Regions from separate parts of the Homo sapiens genome. Here all the other regions are linked to region 4. Evidence: promoter capture Hi-C in 16 types of primary human blood cells and fetal thymus (Javierre and others, 2016). All regions are on one chromosome and are shown on one strand. Each heading gives the region's core, a stretch centred on a gene start or on the middle of the fragment in contact. The rest is flanking DNA. Distances are from core to core; before and after follow the strand shown. Region 1 overlaps SHB (SH2 domain containing adaptor protein B). Region 2 overlaps SHB (SH2 domain containing adaptor protein B). Region 3 overlaps SHB (SH2 domain containing adaptor protein B). Region 4 holds the start of ALDH1B1 (aldehyde dehydrogenase 1 family member B1). Region 5 overlaps SHB (SH2 domain containing adaptor protein B). Region 6 overlaps SHB (SH2 domain containing adaptor protein B). Region 7 overlaps SHB (SH2 domain containing adaptor protein B).

Region 1 (3,337 bases), core at 116-2,615, 390 kb after region 4:
TTAGAGAGTCCCTGCTTTAGCAAAGAGCTTAGGCCTGGGGTCTCCTTCAGTTGTTCAAGCTGTGGTCTGGCCTGGCCTGGTCTGCCAGCAGCAGCAATTCTCGCTGACTTCTCGCTCCCTCTCTTTTCTCTCTCCACTGCCTGTGGGAGGGATGGACATCCGTTCTGTTGTCTCCTTGAAGCTACCTGTGCAAGTCCTGAGGACCCAGCCCTGGGCCTGTGGAAAGGAATGGAAACCACCCACTCAGGTGTGGTGCCCCAGCCTCGTGGCTCTTCTTGTCAGCCTTCACAAAGCTGTGATTCATACTGGAATCTTGTAAATCTCTGAATGGCCAAATAGAACAGGGCTGGGGGTAGAGGGCATGGGGTGACTAGTGGAGAGAGTCATGAGCTGGAGGCTGCAGGAGTGAATTGCAGCTCCTCCGACAGCCGGTTTGAGCTTGGACAAGGCATGCCTCAGTTTCTCCATCTCTGAAGTCAAGGCTTCAGCCAGATCCTAAGGTGACTTTAGTGCTAACCTGTCCTGGTAGTGGTGGCAGTCACACAAAGACACGCTGGATGCACACAGGGACACAATCTCCCAGAACACAGAAGCCTCCCACGTGCTGCTGGTGGTTGGGCTGCTGCCTCGGCTGCCTTTGTTTGTCCCCAGTCTCTGTCAGACCTCCACTCAGTATGCGGCGCTTGGTGTCTGCAGCTTCCACTCAGCACTCCAGAAACCTGTTTGTGAGCTCAAGTCACACTAGCCTCCCTAGGGGATATCTTTCCACAGAAGCCTACTTTCGAATTGGGCCTAATTGTAGCATATATACCTTTAAATAATTTTTTTTAGTGTATTTGAAACAGCTGTCATTTTGCATGTGCATCAGCTGAATAAAGTGGAGCAGCCATTTGAGCTCCTGGTCACCCCGAGTCTGCAGCAGGCTTCCTTCACCCCTTGCAGGAGAGAGACCTCAGGGAGGAGAGAAGCTAGGAGGTTTGAGAACAGAGTGAGATCAGCTCGCCTGCTAGTCTCAGCCTTTCACAGATCCCTCCTCACTGTCCCCTGATGAGTTTCCCAGGCCTGGCTAGATCATGTTACTTTCCTGCTCAGAGATCTCCACTGGGTTCCTCAGATCTGAGCCCAGACTTTCCAGGCCTTCCTCAAATCCCACACCCTATAGGGTTCCCAGGGTCCAGCAGCACCCCATCACCCACTTGCTTTCCTGTGTAAACGCTCACTGTCCTCCTCACTGAGGGGCTCCCCAGGGCTCTGTGATCCCGCAGGGACTTCCTCCCTCTTGTTCTGCCTTGCTCTTGAGTTCCTCCAGCAGCCTGGGCAGGGCCTGAGTGACTCACAGTGGGTTCCCCAGAGCCTAGCACAGAGCTTGGCTCTTGGGAAGAGCTGGTTGAAACTGGATGAAAAATGGGCCTTTCCTCTGCTTCCATCTCATCCTTGCCTTTGAAGTCAGTTTAATGGCTGCAAACATATTAATCATTTGGATTTCCTGTTTGTCCCTGAAAAATAAGCATTCAAAATAGGATTTCGAGGACAGGCAGGGCAGCTCACACCTGTAATCCTAGCACTTTGGGAGGCCGAGGAGGGTGCATAGCTTGAGCTCAAGAGTTTGAGGCTAACCTAGGCAACATGGTGAAACCCCGTCTCTACTAAAAATTCAAAAATTAGCTGGGCGTGGTGGCGTGTGCCTGTAGTCTCAGCTATTCGGGAGGCTGAGGCAGGAGGATTGCTTGAGCCCAGGAGGTGGAGGTTGCAGTGAACTGAGACCGTGCCACGGCACTCCAGCCTAGGTGACAGAGCCAGACCCTGTCTTTAAATAAATAAACAAAATAGGATTTTGAGACCATCAGAACATGTGCTTTCCTGGATTTGAAAACAGGCGATGCAGAGACCATGTATCTGGCCCTGAGGGTGGTGGGGGAGGTTGTGAGTCTCTGGGGCGCCTGCAGTTCTGGGAAGTTTACCGTTTATGGAGTCCTTGGTGGTCAGGAAGCCCAGGCCAGCAGGATAGCGGTCCAGCTCAGTACTGTGTTGGGGCCCTGGCCCTAGTGCTTCCCTCCCTCCTCCCTCCTCCCTCCAAGCTGCCTGCTCCCGGCCACTGGTGCCTTGGAATCGTAACTCAGAGCTCAGAGCAACAGGAATGCTGTAAATCCCCGTCGCGCTCCCCTTTACAAGCAGGCAGTTGGGCACGGCGGCACTTTACAAGAGAAAGCAGCTCCACCACAGCAGAATGCAGCAAGTGCCTGTCACACGGGCTGTCCTGCCACTGCCTCTGCTTGCTCGGTTGGACACAGTGGGTACCACAAGCCAGGAAGAAGCATCACTCTTGTTCATCCCCATCCCATCCCAGGGCCCTCTGCCCCTTAGCAGGGTCTCCTCCTGGGCCTCAGGCCCCCAGGGCCTTGTTGTCCTTTCTGCCACTTGCCCTTGTCACACAGTGAGAAGCTGCTGTCGCCCTGGACAGCTGTTGTTTGATAAGCTGGCCATCTGCCCTGGGGTGATGGAGCAGAGTGCCTCGGCCTCCGTGTCTCTGTGATGTGAGAGGTACAGGGTTCCAGTCCTGAGGTGGTGGAGCTGGACAGCCCAGAAGGCCAACCACAAAGATGAGATAACTTGGGGTAGCAGTACTTTAGGAGTTTTGCCCACTCTGCAGTCATTTTGTACCCTCCTGTGCCAGCTTCTACACTGGGCGTCCAGAGATTGACATAAATGAGATCCAAGCCCCAGTGGATGTGGACTCAGGTCTGACATGTCTTGGGCTTTACTTTGCGCTGTGGGGACCTCCACAGAGGTATTTCGATCACTCAGGTTCCAGGGGAAAAGGAGGCAGGAAAGGCTTCCAAGGAATTGGAGCTTGGCCTAAGTCTTAAAAGATGAGCAGGCCAGGAGGGAAGGGGCTGTCTAGGCAGCAGCCCAAGCTCAGACCTGGAGGAGAGGACTAGCTAGTGGCTCTGGGGACCCACCAGTGGTTTCGTAGGTGCTGAGCTGACACCTGAGTTGGGTCCTGAAGTTAACTCAGAGGTGGGTGTCATGTAGAGAAGAGGGAAAGGATGGCTTGCAAATGGAGATACAGCCTGTGGCCGGCATGGCTGCAGCTTCAAGAACTTACAGAGGGGAGACGTGGCTGCCAAGATGTTCGATGACTAGTTCATAAAGGGCTTTCTGAGCCCCCTAAGGGGCTTGGACTGTACCCACAGGACTATCTGGAGTTGTTGAACCTTCACCTGCTCCCACCCACCTCCTGCCTGTCAGCTTCCCATTTCCCTGACTCAGACTATTGAGCTCATTGAAATCCTCCTGACACCAGGCAGACACACAGATTGATCACATAGAGCCTCTG
Region 2 (3,748 bases), core at 1,130-3,629, 450 kb after region 4:
ATGGCAGGAAGGTCCCATCTCCTCCAAGGAGGGAAGGAGGAGCACGACATTATCAAGAACTTGCCTCCTGTCCTTCAGATTGCTTGATGACGTCTATTTGTATCCGGCTTAGAGCAGCCGGGTTTGTGTTGACTGCTGGGTACTCAGTCTTTAGCCGGCAAATACCTCCTGTAGCTCCGAAGGAGGTTGGGTGGGTGTAACAGGGCCAAGAAGAGCTGAGGGGCACTGGGGGTGCGTGGCAGTTAGGGTTGTTTTTCTTTTGTCTGTCCCTTCATTGATTAATATAGCAAAGGAGAGAGTTTTCAAACAGTAGGCATGTCTGGGTCCAGGCAGGCAAGTGATTAATCTTAGTTTGTTGCTGCTGACAGCTAGGAGAAAGAAATAATAAAGGTTTAGGGGCCAGTGGGAGTGGGGATATGAGGAAAGGCTGCTCTCCCCTCATCTATCAGCAGGGAGCAAGTCTCCACTTCCTTCTGCCGTCCAAGCATCCCCTTGTTGGGTTAACATCTGAGACTCCAGACACCTAGCTCCGTGGTGGTTGCTTGCTCCCATGTGTGAGCCACCAGGGTGGTCCCTGCAAGGCCACAGTGGGACCTCCCTGGCCATTGTTGAGTTCCCCACACAGCCCCAGCATACCTGAATACCTGACAGTGGACTTAGTAGGTCACTGTATTCCCCAGCCAGGCCCCTGCAGGGATGATGAAGCCTTTTAAGAGCAAACTTCAGGGAAGGCAGGTGTGTGCAGCTCAGGTACAGTACTGCTTGCCTCAGGACCCCCACACTGCTCAGCAGTGGTTGCAGGGGCCCTGAGCTCCTGGCCATGTGCCCCATGACTCCCCCAACAGAGGGAGCTCTGCACAGCGGTGAAGACAATGGCTCTGGGTCTTGGCTTAGGCTCTTGAAACCCAGCTCCGCCACATACTAACAGGGTAGTGTTGGGCAAAGGGACTGAACATCTCTGAGCCTTGGTTTTCTCATCTATAAAATGGGTTTCACAGGTGTATTAATGAAGACACAATATATGTGAAGTGCTTAGCATATGCTCCAGCATATAGTGAGTGCTCTATCAGTGGTAGCTCAAATGTCTTTATTATGGACCTCAGAGAGCCACGGGTTGTTGGGGAAAGAGCTCGGTGTGTCCCAGTGCATTGCAAATTGTCTGGGTTCAACCTGGAAGTCTCCATCTGTGCCCACATCCACTGTCCTTTACGATGATGGGTTCTAGATTTTATTGGCTACAGCTGGAAAGAATGCTAGAGAATCTCACAGAACTGGAGTCCAATCCAGGCTCCCCTCTTCCTGGATAACCTGTCTTGAACCTCTCACCTCTCTTGCACTCTGTACGTTGTGCTTTGGTGTGACCTTGGATGAATGAGTGAACTTCTCTGACCTCCTAGTTGCTCATCAGGAGCTGGAGATGATGACCACTCAACAGGTATCCTTTTTCATCACCATGCTGCTGCCCCTCCAGCTCTCCTGCCCATCTTCCGAACTTGTGGTCTGGCCTCCTCATCTCATAGGGAAGCATGTTGGCAGCCAGTCAAGGTAGCAGCTCCAGGAATACCCTAAGCAGAAATCTTGGGGTTTAGGGAACAGAAAGAGACTTTTTCAATTTTCTGGTCCAATATCTTGAACAAGTGGAGATACTGAGGCCCAGAAAGAGGAAGAAGCTTGCCTGCCTCTGGCTTTCCCAGCAGGCAAGCTGTTTGCTAGCAGCATTTGAGCCAGCCTGAGTCAGGGCAGCAGGGGTGGTGGGGGAAGAGGGGGTCTGTCTCTTTGCTCTTATCGCATGGAGGATTTCATGTCCTTTCAGGGCTCATGGAGGAAAAATGAACTTTCTGCTCAATTAGCGTGCTTCGTGTTTTCTCCTTCTAAAAGGTTTAAAAGAAATGCCACAATTAGAAGCCACTGCTGTAGGCAAAACAGAGACTCCTCAAACACTCTTTGCAGAGGACTAAATGAGAACAGTGAACTTTAGAATGTGCAGATGCCTTGCAGGATAAGAGAGTGCACCATTGAGGGGACACTGTGAGGAATATTAGATGACATTTCCCTTTATTCAGAATTACTGAGAAAATGTGCCCTGCTGGTGGTAAAACATTGCCAAGGACGCCACCCTCAACATTAGACTGGCACCTCTTCTGGACTCTGAGCCTGGTGCTTTGGTGATTCTGGTGCAGTGGGGGTGGAGAGTGTAGGAACAGCCCTGGGCCTATGCCCAGGAGACCTGGGTTCAAATCCTAGCTCTGCCTCTGACAAGTTACGGGATCCCAAACTAGTCACCATGATTTGCACCCTTCCTTTCTGAAGGGTTCAGACAGACCCTAGTTTGAGTTCTGCATATTCTCTGAGCCCTCTGTTTACTCTCTAGCACAGCAAGTGTAAATCCTGCCCCGCCACCTGCTCTGGGCTGCTGTAACATGTGAGTGAGGTGATACGGGTCAGCATGCCCAGCACAGGGCCTGATATTTGGGAATAGCCAGCTTTCACACTGTGATAGTATGTTCAAGAAGAGTAGCAACCATTGCCATCATTTTTACAGATAAAGAAACTGGTGTTCACATTACGTCACAGTTAATGAGTAAAGAGATGAGATTGCAACACAGCTCGAGGCCTCTTTCTACCTTGTGGGGTCTCTCGGAATAGAAACACCCCCATTCCTCCCTAGCAGGCCCTGAGAAGCCCAGCCAATGGCCAACTAGTTCTCTGGACCAAAGCTGGATTTTCTGACAGGACCTGTGACCATGAGCCCTGTGCCCAGCATTTCTCAGACCCCTTTCCCCAGGCAGTGGTGACATGGAGAAAGCCCAGAGACCTGAAACCAGAGGGGCTGGTTCTGAGCCAACAGTGTCAGCATCCATGACCCAAATAGAAGAGTCTAGTTTCTTCTCTGGGTCCAGCCCTCAAGGAGCTGTGAAGAAAGCGCAACTCATTGCTCCTACTTTACAGAAGAGGAAACAGAGGCTCAAAGGGGCTTAACCTGTCTTAAGGCCGTGTTGTCAGGGAGGGGCAGAGGCTGAGCCTGCCCAGCTCCTGGACCACTGTTCTTTCCTGACCCTTCTCAGCCATTTGCTCCAGCTAAGCTTAGAAGTTCTCCATTTGCACTCAGGTGCTAGGCTGATGATGCTGAGACTATCTGGTAGCAAACTAGGAGGCCAAGGCCAATTCAGAGGGGCCAGTGGCAGGCGGCCTACATACCTGATGAGAGAGAAGTTTAGGAAGCCCTATCTGGCCCTGGGTGTGTGATATAGATCAGGAGAGAAGGACTAGGGCAGTGGGAGTAGAAAGGAGAGGTGTGTGGAGGTAGAATTGATGAGAGGGAGGAGGAGTGAGGAGTCAAGGACCACATCCAGATTTCGGAGCAGCTGGGTGGATAGTGGCTCTCCCGGCTGCAACGTAGACCTGGAAAAGACCAGGAAAACAGACTCCCTGCAGCTCAGCTTCCCCCTTCCCAATGCTGCCTAAAACGCAGAGGCAAGAGGTGCCTGCTCTCATTCTGCCTCACTCTGCCAGTTCACGGCCCAGTGCACCACCCCCCAACCCGGCAGTGCCAGACGTGCCCGTCAACAGGCTGGGGTTCCCTCCCTGGACTGCTGCGTCTCCCGTCTGAGCCAGGGATGGAGCAGTGCCCTTTGTTTTACCGGAGCTCCTTGGTCTTCTCCAGCATCTGAGCAGCCGCGATTACATTTCCAGCCGGTTTTTAATTGTCTCGTATCAGCCCACATAAATCTGCCTGTGCGGCTCCGCC
Region 3 (3,437 bases), core at 306-2,805, 470 kb after region 4:
TCCTAGCCCTACCATGTCCCATGAGACACAATTTTCCTGAGCCTCAGTTTTCCCATCTGTAAACAGTGATCATTCTAACAACTTAAAGTTGTTTGCTCTACAGTTTAAATGAGATAATATGTGGCAACAGCTCAGCTCAGAGCCCAGTACCCAGTAGGGGCTCTTGAAGTACTGGGTGTTGTTATATCTGTTTTGGCCATGGGGAGCCTTAGATGGTTTTGACCTGAGGGCTAATGTTCTGGGGACATCTGGGTCAGGACAGCAGCTCCCCATGCACCTTTCAAGCTAAGGTAAACCAGAAATCCCCTCTGTGTCTGGAGTCCTGTAACTGGGTCCCACACATTAGTCCCAAAGGCCAATTTCCATCCTTCTCCTGCATAAATATTATATGCAAGTATTTTTAAGTCATTTCATCATGAAAAGAAGCGATTTAACATAACTATTACCCAGGATTCTTCATGAAATATGCATCAAGCAATTAGGTCTAAAAGCGAGAGGTGAGGCCTCGCACCCTGCTCGGCGGCCGGCAGCTGCAGGCTGAGTAATGTTTTATTAAAGCCCGTGATTGCGCTGCAAGGTGGGGCCTGTTATTAGCCCTGCGTGCCCGGCACATTTGATAATCCTGATGATGAGGAGGTGCTTTTTGTGATGATAATGAGCGATCTGAACGCCTGTGACAGCTCCAGCACCCCGGCCTCTGCCAGCCTTACAAGACTCATTAGACAGGTCACCCACCAGAGACACCTCTCATTGTGACTTTGCCCTCGCAAGATGTCCTATCAAAGGAGATGTGGCTGATGCAGGAGCTTGGCAGGCATAGCAGCCTGTTGAAGCTCCCCGGGGGCAATGCCCTCCCTGAACGACGATGGTGCTGATGACGGTGCCGAGGTGTGGAAGCCCATGCTGCCTTGAAGAAGGGTGGGAGGAGATGTGGCTCGGAGCCCGGCTCAGCTGGCTCGGGATGCGGGGCCGGGGCTCTGGGTTCACCTGCAGCCTGCCTTGCTGTGCGCCTTGGGCCAGGGTAGTGTACTCTCTGGCCTCAGTTTCCTCCACGGTACCCCAGGGGAGTGAGAGGTGACCCCCAGGCTGCTTGCAGCTCAGAATACATGCTGCCTGGAGCAGCCATACTCCTTGCCTGATGAACCCCTCTGTTCTCCACAGAAGTGCTCATGCTTCCTTTGCTCATGCTCGCGTCTCCTTTTGTGTGAAGGTGGGAGTCACTGAAGCCACTCCTGGCAGCTGCTTTTAAATCTTCAACTGTTAGATGGCATCTCCCTCATGGGGACCTTAACCAATGAGAATGTATTGTCACAGCATGTCTCCTGGCTGTGTGTGGACAAGGCGTCACCTGACCCTTGCATTGGTCGAGGATTGGCAGATAGTCTCGGGACCTCGGACCCCTGGGGGGGCGGTCACCACCCTGCCTCTCAGGCTGGGGGGCTCCACCAATCAGAACATGCCATTTCCAATCCTCGGCACAGCCCCTTGTGTGGGTGCCACACATTGTCTTTTACTCCCAGCCCCTCTGCTGTCTCTGACCTGCCGTCAGCCCTGCACCATGGGCGCTGTGGAGGCGGAAGATCAGCGTGGAGGGGATGTTTGCTCAGAGTCTGACGCCTCTCATCCGCCCCCTCTGCCTGGCTTCACATGGAACACTGAGGGTTACATGAGGCCCTCTCTCAGGTCTGGGGAGTGCTGAGGTCAGGAGCACTGACTCTGGGCATCTGCTGCTGATAATCACTGTGTGACTTTGGGCCAGACACCTCCCCTTTCTGCACCTCGGTGCTTCAGGACATAGAGCCTGGCCTACAGGAAGGATTGTCCCTGAAGGCAATCCTGGCCAATGCCCCAGTGAAAGCAGGACTGGGGATGAGGGCAGCGGTGGAGGGAAGGTGTGAGGCTGCTTGCAGACCCCTTCCTGCAGGAAGCCCTCAGCGGGTAGGCAGCAGATTATGTTTTGCACATGTGGAATCCAGGATCTAGGGCTGGAAGTACCCCCCAGGGTCATCTAGTCAGCCTCCCTGTGGATGCAGCAGGAGAAGGGACAGAGCCCAGCAAGGCACAAGGATAGCCTGAGGGCCAGGGAACCCACGGGGTGCAGTGCTTGAGCCCAGGAGGGTCAGCATGTGAACGCGCCTTTCTCCCTCTGCCTGAGAATGGTCAGGCCACAGACTAGAGGTTCATGGAGCCCAAGTGCTGGTCCCAGCTCTGCCTTGGTCTCTGAGCTTCATGACCAGTCTGCCCCATCGGCACAGCCTGGCTCAGGGTGGTAAACTCGTGGGTGCTTACACAGGCGAGATAGGAGTGTGTTGGGGGTGATAAACAGCAGGCTCAGACAGGCAGGAGGGACTTCCCGGGGACGTCTAGACTCTCTTCAGCCTGGCAGCTGCCCCACCTCGCTATCTGTCGGCAGCCAAGGTACAGAGGACATTGTGTGGCTTTTAGTACTTGGTGGCCATTCTAAGCCCCTAACCTGGGAACAGAGGAGCTTAGCTTCTGCTTCGGACTCTGTCAGAGCCATTGCTGCTATCACTGTCCACTTCCCTTGCCAGATGCCGTAGAACAAATTCATATGAAATGTTGCCTTCACCCATGTGAGTTACTCTCCTAACCTTGAAAATGAAACTGGCTTGTTCCCCTGCAGCTTCATACCTGCACACTGGCAGACTCAGTTCCCGCCAGCGGCTGTGACCCTCTGCCTGACACCTCCTCCACTCTGTCCCCCAGGTATAGATCTGTGAGAATCACAAAGCCTGCTGGTCCAGCACCCCAAAAACGTAAGGCCACTCAGTGCATGCACGCAGAGGGGAATGATGTGCCCAGGGTCATACCCTCCTCCCTGCTGAGTGTCCCTGGCACCTGCAGCCCCTCCTTACCAGCCCTGCTCTCTCGCCCTTCCACACCCCTTCTCCAGGCAAAGCTGGGCATGTGGCTCTGAGAGCTCAGCTTTTTAACTCTTCTGCTGTTTTCTCAGCCACACAGTTTCAGCGCATTACTTAAGCAATCACAGCCCTTTCCAAACTGGCACAGATCTGTGGTCTCTTCGGCGTGGTGGGTAGGTGAGTCTTTGCTGGAATGGAGTTTTACATTCTTCTTGTAACACACATGCCGTTTCCTTTCTGCAGCCTAAGCGAGTGCGCCGCCTGCTTCTCAGACGTGTCTAGGCAATTCTCCGATGAAATGACCCTTCACTGAGGAGCAGAACTTGCCACAGGCTCTGTAATTAGAACATTGCCAGCCTTAAAAAAAATCTTGATTTAAATTCCAGTTCTTTACAGGAATTAGTCTCTCTTGAAATGTAATTGGCTCTCCCAACGATTTCCTTTAAGCTAAGGGTGACATCTCTAAATACATTATTATGAGCAGACATATTGCTTAGTGCTCGCACTTCATTAAGCATTTGTTCTGCCCATTTAAAAATGGTCCTGGAGCCCAAA
Region 4 (3,705 bases), core at 1,132-3,631:
GGGTTATGTTGAATGATGTCTTGCATATAAAAACCCTGGCAAGCTCCACTCAGGACATCAGAACTGGCCGTGCCTCAGAAATTGACCTAGCCCAGCATCCCCCAACCACAGGTCTCAGCATCCCTTTTCAGCTTTCCCAGAGGTGCAGCAAGTCAGGAGGCAGCTGAGAAGAAAAGCTACAACTCTGAAGAGTGTAGACTTCGTTAAAACAACTACTGTTATAAAACTTAAACGGCATATAATACATATTAAATGAAAATTAAACAGAGTGTAGTGTTCCCAGATTAGTTGAAGCAGTTATTCTTCAGTCAGAATTTGAATCTCTCTGCCTTTGATGTCTCATGAGTCTTGCTCCGCCCAGCGGTAAAATGGAATTGCACCTGCCTGTCCCTTCACCCCCAGCCTCTCACCCTCCACCCCTGGGCAGGGAGAGGAACAAAAAACTCAATCAGGAAAGCAAGGCTCCATGTAGGTCCCCGGCCCCATAAAAATCAATGTGATGGGCGTGGTGGCTTACGCTGGTAACGCTTTGGTAGGCCGAAGTGGAAGGACTGCTTGAGGCCAGGAGTTTGAGACCAGCCTGAGCACATAGCAAGAACCGTGTCTCTACAAAAAAACAAAAATAAATTTGCCGAGCATAGTGGTGCATGCCTGTAGTTCTAGCTGCTTGGGAGGCTGAGGTGGGGGCAATCACCTGAGCCCAGGAGGTTGAGGCTGCAGTGAGCCATGATTGTGCCACTGCACTCCAGCCTGGGTAACAGAACAAGACTGTATCTAAAAAAAATAATAATAATCAATGCTGACCAAGAAAGTTTCCCTTCCCCTTGCGGGTGTTAGGAATAATGCTCAAAATCCTAAGGAAATTGAACACTCGAACACAGGATTCTTAGCAAAGCAATTTTACTTCTGCGCAGAGGGATGCCTCCTTGGCCAGTTGCCATGAGAGCACACCTGAACAAAGGGGCACGAGAGCCTTTATTCCTGATGCAAGTCCTGCCCCTGTACCCTTTCCCCATTGGCTGGGGTCAGGTCGTACAATCTAAACTAATCCCGGTTGGCTAAACATTTGATTTATTTTAGATAGAGTGGGCACGTAAAAGAAAGTGGAGAGAAAGGGGAAAGGGTGTCTGTAATGAGCTAGAAAGTTAGTCTTCTTTCCAAATAAGCAAAGGAATGTGAGCTGGTACTGATAACGCTTGGTACTGTGGCATGCCTGGGCATCTAACAAAGGCAAAAAGGAGAAAAATGAAAAAAAAAAAGGGGGGGATACTAAGAATTAAAGAATAAAAGATTGATCAGATTATTTGAAGAGAAACCTCATCATATCCCACAGGGGGAAGCTGAGTCAGCAGATCTGCCAGGGGTGCCCAGGGTTCCATTTAGCTCAGGACTTTGCCATATGCTGGGACACAGCCCCCTTGCCACCAACAGGCCTGGCTCTGAGGGTGAGGAGACCAAAAGGAGGTAGGGGAAAGGGGAGTCACCAACCCATGGGGTAAGGATTGGAGGGGTGAAGCAGTCAGGAGAGGTGGTCATAGGCCAAGGCTGGCAAACCTTTGCAGCCACACCAAGGCCGTTCCTACTCTTGGGGCCTATATGGGGTTCTTGCTGGGGCCTCCACTTGCTGATAGGAAGATCACAGCTCACAGAGCATCATGCTTTACAGTTTGCAGGCTGTCTTCTCACGGGAAATTTGCCAAGCCTCTCTGCAGTCCCTGGGTGGTCAGGGTTGATGATGACCCCCATTCTGGAAGAAGGCTGGGCATCAGAGAGGTTCAGGGACTCACCGAGGACACACAGCAAGAAAGTATAGGAGCCTCACCCCAGACTTCCACAAACCTAGCTTTGCATATCCTCCTGAATACAGGCAATTTTTTACAGTTCACCCACAGCGGGAAGGACCGGACCTTCTCTATCCGCGGGAACTGCAGCGGCGCCCACCTCACCCCTTCTGCGGGGGAAAGGGCGCAACCTTTGGGCTTGTCCAAGCCTCTGGGCTATGGTCAGGGGCCCTCTGTTGAAGTGGGCCGAGTGGGCAGGAGTGTTGAGGTCGAGCTAACGTGGTAAGGTCTGGGGGCGTCTGTGTCCTCGGGGCTCCTGTAGCGTCACCCAGAGGCGGGGGATGGGATTAGGGGACGTGGAGAGAGTCCTACAGTGCAACGGCGGAAAGGCCAGCCCCCAGATGCGGACGCCGCGGCCCAGAGAGGAAAGCCCCCACGCGGAGCCAGGAGCTGCGGCTTCCCGAGGGAGCCGAGGGGAGACCAGCGTTAGTTACCTGCAGCAGGCTCGGGCTCCGGTTCAGGATCACGCTTGGGTTCTGGTTCCGGCCCTCCCAGCTCTGTCCACATGGCCGCCCAGGGCTGGCCGCAGGTCCCGCCTCCGCGCAGCCCGGGGCTCAGCGGCCAATGAGGCTCCGCCTGCGCCTGGGGCGCTGCCTACGTCCTGTCGCCGGCCAAGGCCGCTCCTCCCTCGCCCCGCCCGGTCTTTCCCGGTCCCCGCCCCTCTACCCCCGGCAGCCCGCACCGCTTCAGCGCTCCCTCCCTCGGGTCTCCGCAAGCCCAGTGTCCACGTTGCTCAGATCTAGGCTCCTAAGGCACTGGTTTGGGAGCGGAAACAGAGATACCCAGAGAGGGGCAGGGGCTTCCCCAGGTCACACAGCAAAGTTTTCGGAGACCGAACCCCAACTACACTTTGCATTTCTCCCCGCTGCAAGACGCTGCTTAATCGACTGCCATCCTTGAGACTCCCCTTAACCCCTTCTCTGCCTCGCCTCTCCCTCACTTTTTTTGTCCAGGATTCACTAATTTCTGTCCTCCACTTTCACTGCTCCTTTCTTCAGTTCCTTCAAGAAGATTTTATATTTGGGCATTTTTCAAAGTACATTTTTGTCCTAAGGACAAAAAGAATGTATGCACAGTGTAGAAAGCTTGGAAAACACAGGAAAGGATGAAAAAAGAAGAAAAATATCACCTGTAATCTCTTCACCTACGGTAGCCATTATTACGGTGTTCGTCCTGCTAGTATTGTTTCCTCTGCATCTTTCAAAATTATTTTAATAAAAATAAAATCATATAGTAACCTCTGTTGTGCTGCTTTAAAAAAAATTTAAAAACTTAGCGCTGTATTTTGAAGTTTTCTCCTATCACTAATTACAGATGACATCATCCTCTCCAAGGTGGCATAGAATTCTGTTGTAGGGGTAAACTGTTGGACATTTAATTGTCTCCATTTTGTTGCTATAAAGGTTGCCAAGATGGACCACTGAACATGCATCTCACTCGCTCCACCCTCGCTGCACCTTCCTTCTGGCTAGGGAGGTCCCAAAGCTAACCGCCATGTTTCCCAGCCTCATTTGCAGTTAGAGTTCTGGATGTGGACTAGGTGCTGCCAATTAGTAGTACTCTGCCGGATGTGGAAGGCGGGCACGCATTGGAGGGTATTGTCCTGCCCCTGTAGGGTGGCACTAGCAGGATAGCAGAAATGGGAGATGTTCTGCGGCAGCATTCCTTGTCCCTTCTCCAGCTTTCTGGCTGTGGACCGGCCGCTGTGGCTGTAGCCGCTCCTTGACCTGGCTTCCTGCTCTTTGAATGGAGGCTGCAGGAGGGTGTCTGAAGTAGCCTCAGACAGGCACGAGGCTGGTGGGCCACGTCCATATTGTCCTGAGAGTTGGTCCTGGTCTGGCTAAGGCTTGCTTCTGCCTCCGGC
Region 5 (3,513 bases), core at 833-3,332, 430 kb after region 4:
TCCTGAGTTTCCTTTGTTGACTGATGAATGGAAGATTTACAGTCCTGCTGAGCCAGGTGCAGGTTCATTCCTTCAACTGATGTTGAGCATCCACTGTACATCAGACACTGTTTTAGGTATCGGGAATTTAGCCTTGAACAAAACAGAATGAAATGCCCTATCTTCTTGGAGCTTCTCACTCAGGAATTTCAGCAGGAGTCAGAAAAAGGGGTGGTTTCTGATACAGGCATTGTATCAGAGCGTACATGTGACCATGGGTCAGGGTCTCCCGCTTACAGGGGGCCTGCCTGGACCTTGGTACATCATCTGTTACCTTCACGGTACAGGTATTGTCAGCCCTGGTTTGCAGATGAGGCAGCTAAGGCTCAAAGAAGTTTAAGAAACATGCCCCAAGTCACTCAGTAATGACAGAGACAGGATTCAAACCCAGGTCCTCCTGACTCCTAAACTGTGAGTCGAGTCACTGCAGCTCCTCCATTCCCTGGGTGGGTTTCAGCCACGGGCCATTCATCGGAGCTAGCTGCAGGTCGGCCATGGGGAGACTCCGAGGAGACTGAGGCACATGGCCCCATCTCTGCAAAGTGTCCAATTCTGAGAAGACACCTACATGCCTCAGTGTTGCAGAGGCCAGTGCCAGGACAGTGGTGCAGACTTTGGAGCTCAGAGGAGGAGAAAGGAATTCTACCTGGGGGTCTAGAGCAAAACCTACCCCAGGAGATAACGTTGGAGCTGAGCTCTGAAGAATAGCTGGGGTTTTTGCAGAGAAATAGTGAAGTAAAGGGATTCTAGAGGGTAGACTTAGCCAAACAAAGCCCTAAAGACAAAAAGGCAGATGATAGATCTGGGGACTGGCTGTCCTTTGTGATTGGAACCTAAGGGTGGGTGTGGAACCCACAGGGGTTTTGTAGGGGAAGTTGCATCATTACATCAAATTCAGAGGAACTTGAGCGCCAGAATGAATTTGTCCTTTGTCTTGGGGCACTGGGGAGCAGGGAGGGTTTGCAAACCCAGGAGAGCTATGCTTTAGAGGTCCATCGGCTTTTTGGAGTTTACTCTCTGGCCAGCTCTGAACAGTGGACAGGACAGTGGAAAGAGATCCACCCTGAAGGAACACATTTATCTCATCCAAGCACCTTCTCCACATGAAACTTCTGTGAGTTAGGGGCAGACAAGAGACTGGAGAGGGCAAAGAAAAATAAATCCCAGGCGCAGCACCCACAGCACCCAGGCTGACTGAGAAGAGTGGTGTGGATGCCCCCTGAGCTACAGGAGATGTACTGAGGGCTGGGAGCCACCAAGAGGGAGATGATAATTCTCTGCAGGTGGCATCAGGGTAAGCTTTGTGGAGGAGGTGGCGTTTGTGCCAGACCTTTCCTAGACATCATTCAGATGGAGCAGAAGGGCAGTAATTCCAGGCCTAGAAGTAGGAAGTGCACAGCAGGGAGGCCAGATGAATGAGGCCCAGCTCCTGCCAGACCAGCAGCCCTCAGGTATTCTTGTGGGGAATGAAGACCCAAGGGTGGGGTGAGCCTGACCTTGCAGGCCTGCAGTCCTGGGCTTGACCCTCACCCTGCTATTTGGCTTTGAGACCCTGGAGGAGTTCCTCCTACTACTCCTCTGGACCGCCGTTCCTCACCCATTACCCACGTGGCAGGGCCAGTAGGAGGGATAGAGCTAAGCTAGGTGTCTTGGATGCTGTCTTCTGTTGTTGGCAGTGACCACATTTTAGGACTGATTGGTGTAAAATCTGTCATACAAGCAGAAAGGGGACCAATCCAGATGGGAGGGCCAGGAAAGCTTCCTAGAAGCAAGGCACTTGAGCTGGGTCTCAAGGAATGAGTCCTGCCACCATGGCAGAACTTTTGGAAAAACATTGACCAGCCTCTCTCTTCCATCAACCACCAGGGTCTGGTCCCCATCATTGGAACCAAAGTCAGAAGGGCTCCCAGAGCCTCAACCTGCACAGCTCTGAGTCTTACTTTCCTCCTTCAGATTCCAACTTCCATTTTTAATTGCCCATAGGTGAAATTAATTAGGTTCTGTCATTCTAATGACTCACGGGGGTAGCATATTTTTTCTCTAAATGCAGATCTTCTTTTGAAGGACTGTGTCTTTATCTTTTGCAGAAAAATCACTAAATTAAAAGAATTGCCATGTTAAATTGCAGATTAAGGAGAAACGTAATTAGAAGGAATGAGAGCAGTTGTGTTTGGTGCTTTTGTTCTTAACATTTTTTTTCTTAGGCTGCCGAATCACTGCACTTGGAGTTTGTATATTTGTATTTTAGGTGAAATGATTTGCCTAATTAAGCCTGTCACTCATCACCACCTGTTCTCTCTAAGATATATGGCTATATTATTAAGCTTGCCAGCAAATGTGTAAATTATTTCAGTGGGGAATTACATTGTTGACTAGGACGTTACTAGTTTTTATCCAATTTATCTGGTATGAAACCGATTTTTTTTTCCCAATAAAGCTAAACAGCAGTTCATTAAGTTTCTTCATTTAATCACTTATTGAGCACCTGTTATGTTGCCGGTAATGGGCTAGGTATGGGGGAAGGGGCACATGATACAGCCCCTACCCTCAGGGGGCTCACCGGGAGCCAGGGTAGGACATGCAGTTAGGGTGCTAAGATCAAGGTGAGTCTTGGGAGAGGTGAGGTCCAGGAAGGCTTCCTGAAATAGGTGACCTCTGGAGGGTAAGTGGTATTAGTGAGGTGAAGAGATTGGTGGACCTGAGGCTGGACAAGCAGCCGGGTCCTAGAGAGCCTTTTGGGTTGTGCCGAAAAGCTTGGGCTCCCTCCACAATCATGTTCTGTGCTCCATGCCTCTCTGCTCACCTTCTGTGTCGGGATGTCGATTGTAGAGATTTATATTGGCAGAAATCCCCCAATCCTGATTTTAGCCAGTGGAGCCCCAGGATGTCAGGAGTGAAAGTGACTTATAATTCATCTGGTCCCTCGGTCTCCTGAGCCTGTGGCAAAACTAAGCCTAGAACCTCACTTCCAGCTTAGTCCCCTTCCTATGCCAGGGCAAGCCGCAGCCCTTCAACGCTGGCAGCCCTATGGGCCAGGATGCCTGCTGAGTTGTATCCTCTCTATTCCTGACAACCAGAAAATTAGCAGCAGGGAGGCATCATGGAGAAGTGCAGGCTAGTCCCATGCTCCCTGACCACATCCCCTTCTGTGCCCATCCCAATGGGGGCATCACCCTCCCCCAAGCCAGAAATCTGGGCATCACACAGCAGTTATCCCGGACTCACTCCCACAAGTAGTCAAGCTTCTACATCCCTCCCGTCATTGAGGGGGTCAGCCTCCATCACCTTTCCCTGACTGGTCTTCCCGTCTTCAGGATTGACCCCAAACCCACCCTCCACCAGCACTCAGAGAGGTCTCTAAAGCCCATTCTCTGATTATCCCCATCTATAAGTTCAAGTCCAAGCTCTTTAGAAAGGGGCTCCAGGATGACATGGCCCCAATTTGTCTGTCTAGCCCCAGTGCTCTCCCCTGCC
Region 6 (3,410 bases), core at 768-3,267, 410 kb after region 4:
CTAATGCAGCTGGTGATTGTAAGTTGAAGCCAGTGCTCATTTGCCATTCTGAAAAATCCTGGAGCCCTTAAGAATTATGCTAAATCTACCCTGCTCGTGCCCTGTGAATGGAACAACAAAGCCTGGATGGCAGTTCCTCTGTTTACAGCATGGTTTACTGAATATTTTAAGCCCACTTTTGAGACCAACTTTAAGGAAAAAAAGATTCCTTTAAAGATACTACTGCTGATTGACACTGTTCTTGGTCACCCAAGAGCTCAGCTGGGGATGTACGAGGAGATGAATGTTGTTTTCATGCCTGCTAACACAACATCCATTCCGCGGCCCATGGATCAAGGAGTAATCTCAACTTTGAAGTCTTATTATTTAAGAAATACATCTCATAAGGCTATAGCTGCCAGAGATAGTGATTCCTCTGATGGACCTGGGCAAAGTAAACTGAAAACCTTCTGGGGAAGATTTACTGTTCTAGAAGCCATTAAGTACATTTGTGATTCATGAAAGGGGTCAAAATAGCCACATTAACAGGAGTTTGGAAGAAGAGTCCAGTCCTCACAGATGACTTTGAGGCCTTCAAGACTTCAGTGGAGGAAGTAACTGCAAATATGATGAAAATAACAAGAGAACTAGCATTAGAAGTGGAGTCTGAAGATGTAACTGAATTGCAGGAATCTTATGATCAAACTTGAACAAATAAAGAGTTGCTTCTTATGGATGAGCAAAGACAGTTTTCTTGAGATAGAATCTATTCCTGATGAAGATGCTGGGAACATTGTTAAAATGACAACATAGGATTTAGAATAGTACATAAACTTAGTTGATGAAGCAGCAGCAGAGTTTGAAAAGATTGACTCCAATTTTGAAAGAAGTTCTGCCGTGGGTAAAATGTTATAAAACAGCCTTTCGCTAAGAGAAATCTTTCGTGAAAGGAAGAGTCAATCTATGTGGCAAATTTTATTGTCTCATTTTAAGAAATTCCCACAGCTGGGGGGAGGGGCATAAAAAATTTTCCACAGCCACCTCAGCCTTCAGGAACTACCACCCTGATCAGTCGGCAGCCGGCAACATCAAAGCAAGACCCTCCACCAGCAAAAAGATGACTCACTGAAGGCTTAGATGATTGTAAGCAGTTTTTGGCAATAAAATATTTTTAAAATTAAGGTTCTACATTTTTTTAAGGCAGTGGTATTGCACATTTAATAAACTACAGTATAATATAAATATAACTTTTGTGTGCATTGGAAAACCAAAAAATTTTACAGGTACCTGCCACCATGCCTGGCTAATTTTTGTATTATTAGTAGAGATGGGGTTTCACCATGTTGGCCAGACTGGTCTCGGACTCTTGACCTCAAGTGATCTGCCCACCTTGGCCTCCCAAAGTGCTGGGGTTACAGGCATGAACCACTGCACCCAACTTTGGTGGGGGGGCCTGTTTTTTTTGTTGTTGTTGTTTTTTTGTTTTTTTTTTTTCAGGGAGGCACTAAGTTGGTGAATACTGGAGCAGAGTATAGCTTGTTGCTTGTGGACTGGGCAATCTTTTAAACCCCCATCACATCCTCTCAGGATTACTGCCTGCTCTCTTCCCCAGCCCTTACCTTCTCCACATTCCCATGGGCAGACCCCGCCATGGCCGCAGTCTGTGGGGAGCACACCTGCCTAGCTCTCCTGGTGAATGGGCCCAGGCAAATTCTTAGGGTCCCTTTCAGTTCTAACATTCTCTGATTCTAAAGAAAGTGCTTTAGTCTTCTTTTCTTTCTATGTATGTAGTTCTGTTTACAAACCTTTCTGCTCCAGAGGTCAACAGAAACCCCCATCCTGTTAATGTTTCTGCTTTCTGCCTAAGAGGCATGAAATTACAGACTGCCACCTAATATTAAAGGTCATTTTGCATGAATGTGTAGATGCTGATGTTCAGATAACTTGTGACTTAAAACATATGGTCACAGACTCCCTTGTGAGATCGGTCTCTGGACCCTCATGGATTGGCCCAGCTAATAAGGAAGACGGGCCTGGTAGTTAGGCAGGAGGCAGCAACATCTGGCAAGCTGGCCTGGCACAAGGGCCTTCGATGTCCTGGAGCTGTTGGTGAGCCTCTCCCAGGAGAGAAGATGCTCCCAAATGGGCATTTTCTCAGGGAAAGGCAGCTGCTTCCTAAATACACGCAGCTCCTGGAAGCCCAGCCTGCTTAAAATCATATTTACTCTCTTTCATGTGCTCATCTTAATTACATTTTTTCTGCTCTAGTGTCTTTATTCATTATTTAAAACAACTTTCAAAAATAATTACGCGATAATCCCTTCTCCTCTACACAGTAGCTGTTTACCTTCCTGTATTGGGTTTTTCAGCTCTTGGTGTTGTGGATGTCTGTACTTACAACGTTGCTGTCATCACAGTGTAGATATAGGCCAAATCTGTGATGTCAGTATTTACCAATGCCCAGGCAAGGAGCAGAATTCCCTGTGGGGCCCTGCTCATATTGACGGAGACTTGTTTAAAAAGCCTGCGTTATACTTTGCCCCCCACACATAAACAATCTTGCATTTTACTTTTTAGCTTAGCATAATTTCTTGCATGGTTTCCCATGTCGCTACATAATCTTCAGATTGATCATTTTAATGGCTGCTTAATATTCCATCCAGTTAACATGCCATAATTTACTTAACTCTTCCCTATTGTTGGGGCCTTAATGAAAATTTGAATTCGCCATGTAATGTAGTGGGGGAGGCTTGTTTTAATGATTACCGTTATAACATCCCCTGCCCTAACTGCATGCCATTACTAGTCCAGCTTTGGTAAGGTGCAGATGCTTCTGGAACAATAAATCCTGCATGAGAGGTGTATGCACAAGTCCTCTGATTTAATAGCTAATCTGTTCACTGCACATGTTTCCCTTTAAGGCTGGTGTTTATGGAGAATATCTGTCTCTAATGCATATTGTTTAACACTAAACTGTATGCATTTGGCATATTGTCCCAGATCCTTTATCACTACTGTCAGGGACTTTCATAAAGTATCTGGAATTTGGGGGTAAATAGTGGTTTCTGGCTGTCAGTTCTGTTTCATTTATCCCACCACATTCACTGAGTATCTCTTTGGCGTGAGAGTGAGCAAAAGCACTCCTGATTATCAGGGGCCCGACGGGAAGTACATCTGTGAATTGTTTGTGGTTCCTTTAGATTAAATGGTGAATTGCATGAAAAGTACTTCATCAACTGTGTACATGGGAGTGGTTGCTGGTCCTGCTTTTGTGAAGGAGGGTGAAGAGGAAGGTGGTTTTCCCAGGTCAGTGCCTTCTCAGCTGCCGTATCCTCAGCCCCCAGAATTCTGCAGACAGGAGGCTAGACTTCACTCCTCAGAACGGAGGAAGACGAATACAGGTGATGAGGACCCTACAAGACAATAAGTTG
Region 7 (3,492 bases), core at 37-2,536, 370 kb after region 4:
TTCCCTTTGCATTTCTGCAGTGGCTCCTCTTCTGAAGTGCCACCAGCCCTTCCTGTAGCCGGGTGATCTTCCTAGAACGAGTTTGCTGAGAGTAAATTGGCCTTGGCCTGAAAGCTGCTGTGGGTTTCAAACAGAAAGCCTTGCCTTGCAAGATCCTCGGGGCTAGGATCCCTGTTGGGCCACCCCCCCACCCCGTCACTTTCAGGGTGGTGACAGGGCAGAAGTCTTTTTTTAAATTTATTTAAATTTTTATTTTCATAGGTTATTGGAGAACAGGTGGTGTTTGGTTACATGACTAAGTTCTTTAGTGGTGATTTGTGAGATTTTGGTAGCCCTCTCCCCCTGCACAGGCCGAATTGCTCAATCTGGAGCCAGCCCACATGATTGCAGAGGGGTTACCATTTCCTCCATGTCTTAGATCCTGGAGATGGCACGTCGGGTCCTCTTTTTCTCCAGTTGACCACCAGGGAAGAAAACAAAAGAGCTGCATGTTAGCACAAACTTCTTGCTTCACTTCAACGAACAGGGCTGAGCAATACCTGGGAAAAGTACAATTCCAGAGTAATATCTGGAGGCTTGTCTCTAGACTGGTGGGGAAGGGTGCTGGCTCTAGCTTATTGTTTCCCAAGCTTTCCTGATAAGGATCACCTGGCTTGCTTGTTAAAATACAGATTATTGGGGCTAGGAATCTGTTTCCTTAACAAGCGTTCCAAGCCATTCCTGTCTTCAGGCAAGTTTGGGAAACATTCTGTCTACTGTACCAAAAATAGCCTGTGGAAGAGGAGTGCTTTTAAGCAAGTTTAGTTTTGCACATAGTACATGAATAGGTTCTCCTTGTTTGAAAATGTTTTAACATTGCAGAGAAGGTCTCTTTTGACTTCCCCTAAGCACCCCATTCCAAGTCCTTCCCTCCTTCCCAAAGAGGGGTCAGTTTGGAGTGTGCATCTCCCAGACCCTTTCTTTAACTTAATAGAGATACAGGTTTCTGTTTTGTTTTTCATTAAGTAGGTATGATGTTGTAGTTATCATTCTACAGCTTGCTTGCTTTCCATTCAGAGCTATGTCATGGAGTGCTGTGCCAGCTCACACAGAGCAACTGCTTTTTTTAAATTTTTTTTTTCAGCCTGCTGCATAATGTTACATCGTATGGAACTAGCACAGTTTATTTAGCGATTCCTCTATTGATGGATGCAGTAGTTTCGGGTGGTTTCTCATGATTACTTCAGGCAGCATCCTTCCCATGGACCCTTATGCACATTTGGGAATAAATACTGAGAAGTAAAATTGCTGGGTCAAACTTGGCGCATTTGGGGATTTTAATGGATTCTGCCCAAAGTTACCCTTGTAAGTGTCTCCACCCAAGTGCATTTCCACTGAAAGCATGTGGAGAGGACCCAATTCTGCTCACAAGTGCAGCTGTCCCACAAAAGCAACTAAAACTCTGACCAGTCCATAGGGAAGTGTGGCCAAGGGGCAACACCCACCTTCCTCTAGTCCTTTCCTTTGGGATGAACAGCTGCAGACTACTTCCTATCACAAAGTGAAGTTTCTAAGATAAAAACACAGGGGCCCCAGCAGTGTGCGTTCCAGAGAGGAGGCATGGAGAGGCCATCCCCAGGCCACTGCTGGTTTGCTAGGTGACTGACAACGCCCTGCAGTGGGCCCTGTGGAAAACAAGGGGAGGTCAGAGCAGGTCTCCAGGAGGACAAACCTGTGGAAGCCCTGTAGGGGCTTTGGGCTGACCTGGGGTCTGTAGTTTTGTCTGAAAGCAAGAAAGGTGCTTGCCTGGGGTTTAGCACTCATCCCAAGAGGCCGAGCAAACAAAAGATGACGTGGCTCACTGACTAAGCAGCCGCACTCTACAGCCTTTTTTTCTGCTACTGCTCAGCTCTGCCTCTGTGGCTGCCAGGTCTCTGCCAATCTGAGACTAAAAGGAAAGCTTCTTGTGGACCCAGGTGGCCTGGCCTGCAGAGGAGTCCCGGCTGGCTCCCTTTTGGTTGAATTGTTCAATTAGATATACAGGAGTTGTCCACTAACTGGGAAGTTTTAAAGCAAAGCAAAAGCAATCCCGTCAGAAATCCAATCTCACATCTGGAGAAAACTCATTCTCTTTCTTTTAGCTCAAAAAAGCAGCACGCTTCACACAAACCTTCTGCATGGCCATCTGGACTGGCGGTGAGCCCCAGGCAGCTTGGACAGTGGTCACACTGCCCAGTCCTGATGGCTGGGGCCCATGGTACTTCACAGGGCACTCTGGTTGACTGCCTGCTCAACTCTCCTAACACCTGGTTGAATTTTTATTCCCAAAACTAGGACATCATTTTGCAAAAGATCAGACAGTTCAGTGTAGTGTTTGCAAAGTTTCAGGTTGCTCAAACCTCAAATTTCTTTCCCTCCACCAACCTCACTTTGAAGTTCAAAAGCAAATTGATTAAATATACATTTTAGGAACTTTCCAATTTGCTTCTTAAACTAACAGAATTCTAGACTTTTTTTTTTTTTTCAATGGAAGGATTTTCAACTGTCAGCAGGTATAACTGGAACCATATGTCAGCAGAGACCAGGGGCTTTTCCTGGTTTTAGGATTTGTACATTCTTACTGAAACGGAAGTAAGTGGAGCAGGCAGCCGCAGCTCCATGACAGCCTGAGCTCAGATCTCATTTTAATTAGAAAATATAGGTAGCACTTGCTGAATCACAGTCCTTCCAGAACTCCTGTCCCAGGGCAAACAAAGATTTGGTTTATATCCTGCAAACCTCTGTGTTTGCAAATTACAGAGCACTTCTGAGAGCTGGAATGGCGATTTCTAGATTACTATGGAGACTGCAACCCAACTGCCTCTCCCACCCCGCCAGCAAATCCCCCCAAATGATTTTGTTTTCCAGGGGAGACATTTTTTCCCTTCCTTATTGCAAAATAGATGGAGCATGTTCATGTTGAAGAGAGACAGTGAGGAAATCTGGGACAAGAGAAATAAGATTAGATGTCATCCACAGCAGCAACTCATTTTCTCCATTTGGATGTCTGGCCCCTTGAACTCTGAGACACAAAACCCTGCACCTGACCAGCATCTGAACTGTTCCGTTTGACAGCAGTTTATGTGTATAATTTTCTCCCTAATGTATTCTGCAAATGGTAGAGTAGAAATAGCAAATGAAAGACATTGCAAGGCCTAGCTCTCTCCCACCCCTTCTTTCCCTGGCCTGGTGTCATTTGAGCTCAGTGAGTCTCAAGAAAGGCTGCCATTACAATGTCAGCATCTGGAAGCCACCCCTACTGGGTCCCCACTGGGACTCAGAGCCTGAGCCACAGCCACGGAGAAAGTGGTGGAGTAGCGGCAGCGGGAGCCATAGATGCTCCAGTGCTGGGCACTCTGGGCTTCGGTCTTCACTGATGAGCTTCTCTTGTTTGGGGAGCAGTGACCGCTGTGTGCTAAACCTCCCGTTGGCCTCCAGCCACTTGCCAGGGACAGAGCTGCCGCCTGCTGTCCC

The links. Contacts are between HindIII fragments. The CHiCAGO score rates a contact against its expected background, and 5 or more counts as called.
Region 1: a contact is called between a fragment that was not itself captured here and the fragment with the promoter of ALDH1B1 in region 4, in 2 of 17 cell types (monocytes and megakaryocytes). The highest score is 5.5, in monocytes.
Region 2: a fragment that was not itself captured here is called in contact with the fragment with the promoter of ALDH1B1 in region 4 in 8 of 17 cell types (naive CD8 T cells, total B cells, total CD4 T cells and 5 more); the score reaches 9.6 in naive CD8 T cells.
Region 3: a contact is called between a fragment that was not itself captured here and the fragment with the promoter of ALDH1B1 in region 4, in 14 of 17 cell types (naive CD4 T cells, megakaryocytes, total B cells and 11 more). The highest score is 15.4, in naive CD4 T cells.
Region 5: a contact is called between a fragment that was not itself captured here and the fragment with the promoter of ALDH1B1 in region 4, in 6 of 17 cell types (megakaryocytes, naive CD8 T cells, total B cells and 3 more). The highest score is 6.8, in megakaryocytes.
Region 6: a fragment that was not itself captured here is called in contact with the fragment with the promoter of ALDH1B1 in region 4 in 1 of 17 cell types (naive CD4 T cells); the score reaches 5.5 in naive CD4 T cells.
Region 7: a contact is called between a fragment that was not itself captured here and the fragment with the promoter of ALDH1B1 in region 4, in 2 of 17 cell types (naive CD4 T cells and activated CD4 T cells). The highest score is 7.1, in naive CD4 T cells.

The regions. Positions count from the first base shown.
Region 1 is chr9:37,996,944-38,000,280 of GRCh38, reverse strand. The region is part of intron 2 of SHB (SH2 domain containing adaptor protein B); the gene reads left to right. Among named protein-coding and RNA genes, the nearest start is that of SHB, 71 kb to the left of the region's middle. RefSeq lists an enhancer at 2,102-2,603. The HindIII fragment of the contact is 7,612 bases long and covers 1-3,337 here.
Region 2 is chr9:37,938,602-37,942,349 of GRCh38, reverse strand. All of the region lies in intron 5 of SHB (SH2 domain containing adaptor protein B), which reads left to right. Among named protein-coding and RNA genes, the nearest start is that of SLC25A51, 36 kb to the right of the region's middle. The HindIII fragment of the contact is 1,413 bases long and covers 1,673-3,085 here.
Region 3 is chr9:37,921,419-37,924,855 of GRCh38, reverse strand. All of the region lies in intron 5 of SHB (SH2 domain containing adaptor protein B), which reads left to right. Among named protein-coding and RNA genes, the nearest start is that of SLC25A51, 19 kb to the right of the region's middle. RefSeq lists enhancers at 1,250-1,544, 1,045-1,656, 2,403-2,502. The HindIII fragment of the contact is 3,831 bases long and covers 1-3,437 here.
Region 4 is chr9:38,391,378-38,395,082 of GRCh38, reverse strand. ALDH1B1 (aldehyde dehydrogenase 1 family member B1) reads right to left here and starts at 2,381. Exons shown (of 2, transcript NM_000692.5): 1 at 2,276-2,381. RefSeq lists enhancers at 1,905-1,994, 2,035-2,084 and a silencer at 2,295-2,614. The HindIII fragment of the contact is 5,526 bases long and covers 1-2,928 here.
Region 5 is chr9:37,958,942-37,962,454 of GRCh38, reverse strand. The region is part of intron 3 of SHB (SH2 domain containing adaptor protein B); the gene reads left to right. Among named protein-coding and RNA genes, the nearest start is that of SLC25A51, 57 kb to the right of the region's middle. The HindIII fragment of the contact is 566 bases long and covers 1,800-2,365 here.
Region 6 is chr9:37,977,684-37,981,093 of GRCh38, reverse strand. The region is part of intron 2 of SHB (SH2 domain containing adaptor protein B); the gene reads left to right. Among named protein-coding and RNA genes, the nearest start is that of SLC25A51, 75 kb to the right of the region's middle. The HindIII fragment of the contact is 4,096 bases long and covers 1-3,410 here.
Region 7 is chr9:38,017,518-38,021,009 of GRCh38, reverse strand. The region is part of intron 1 of SHB (SH2 domain containing adaptor protein B); the gene reads left to right. Among named protein-coding and RNA genes, the nearest start is that of SHB, 50 kb to the left of the region's middle. RefSeq lists enhancers at 1,704-1,998, 3,361-3,492 and a silencer at 3,384-3,492. The HindIII fragment of the contact is 1,310 bases long and covers 632-1,941 here.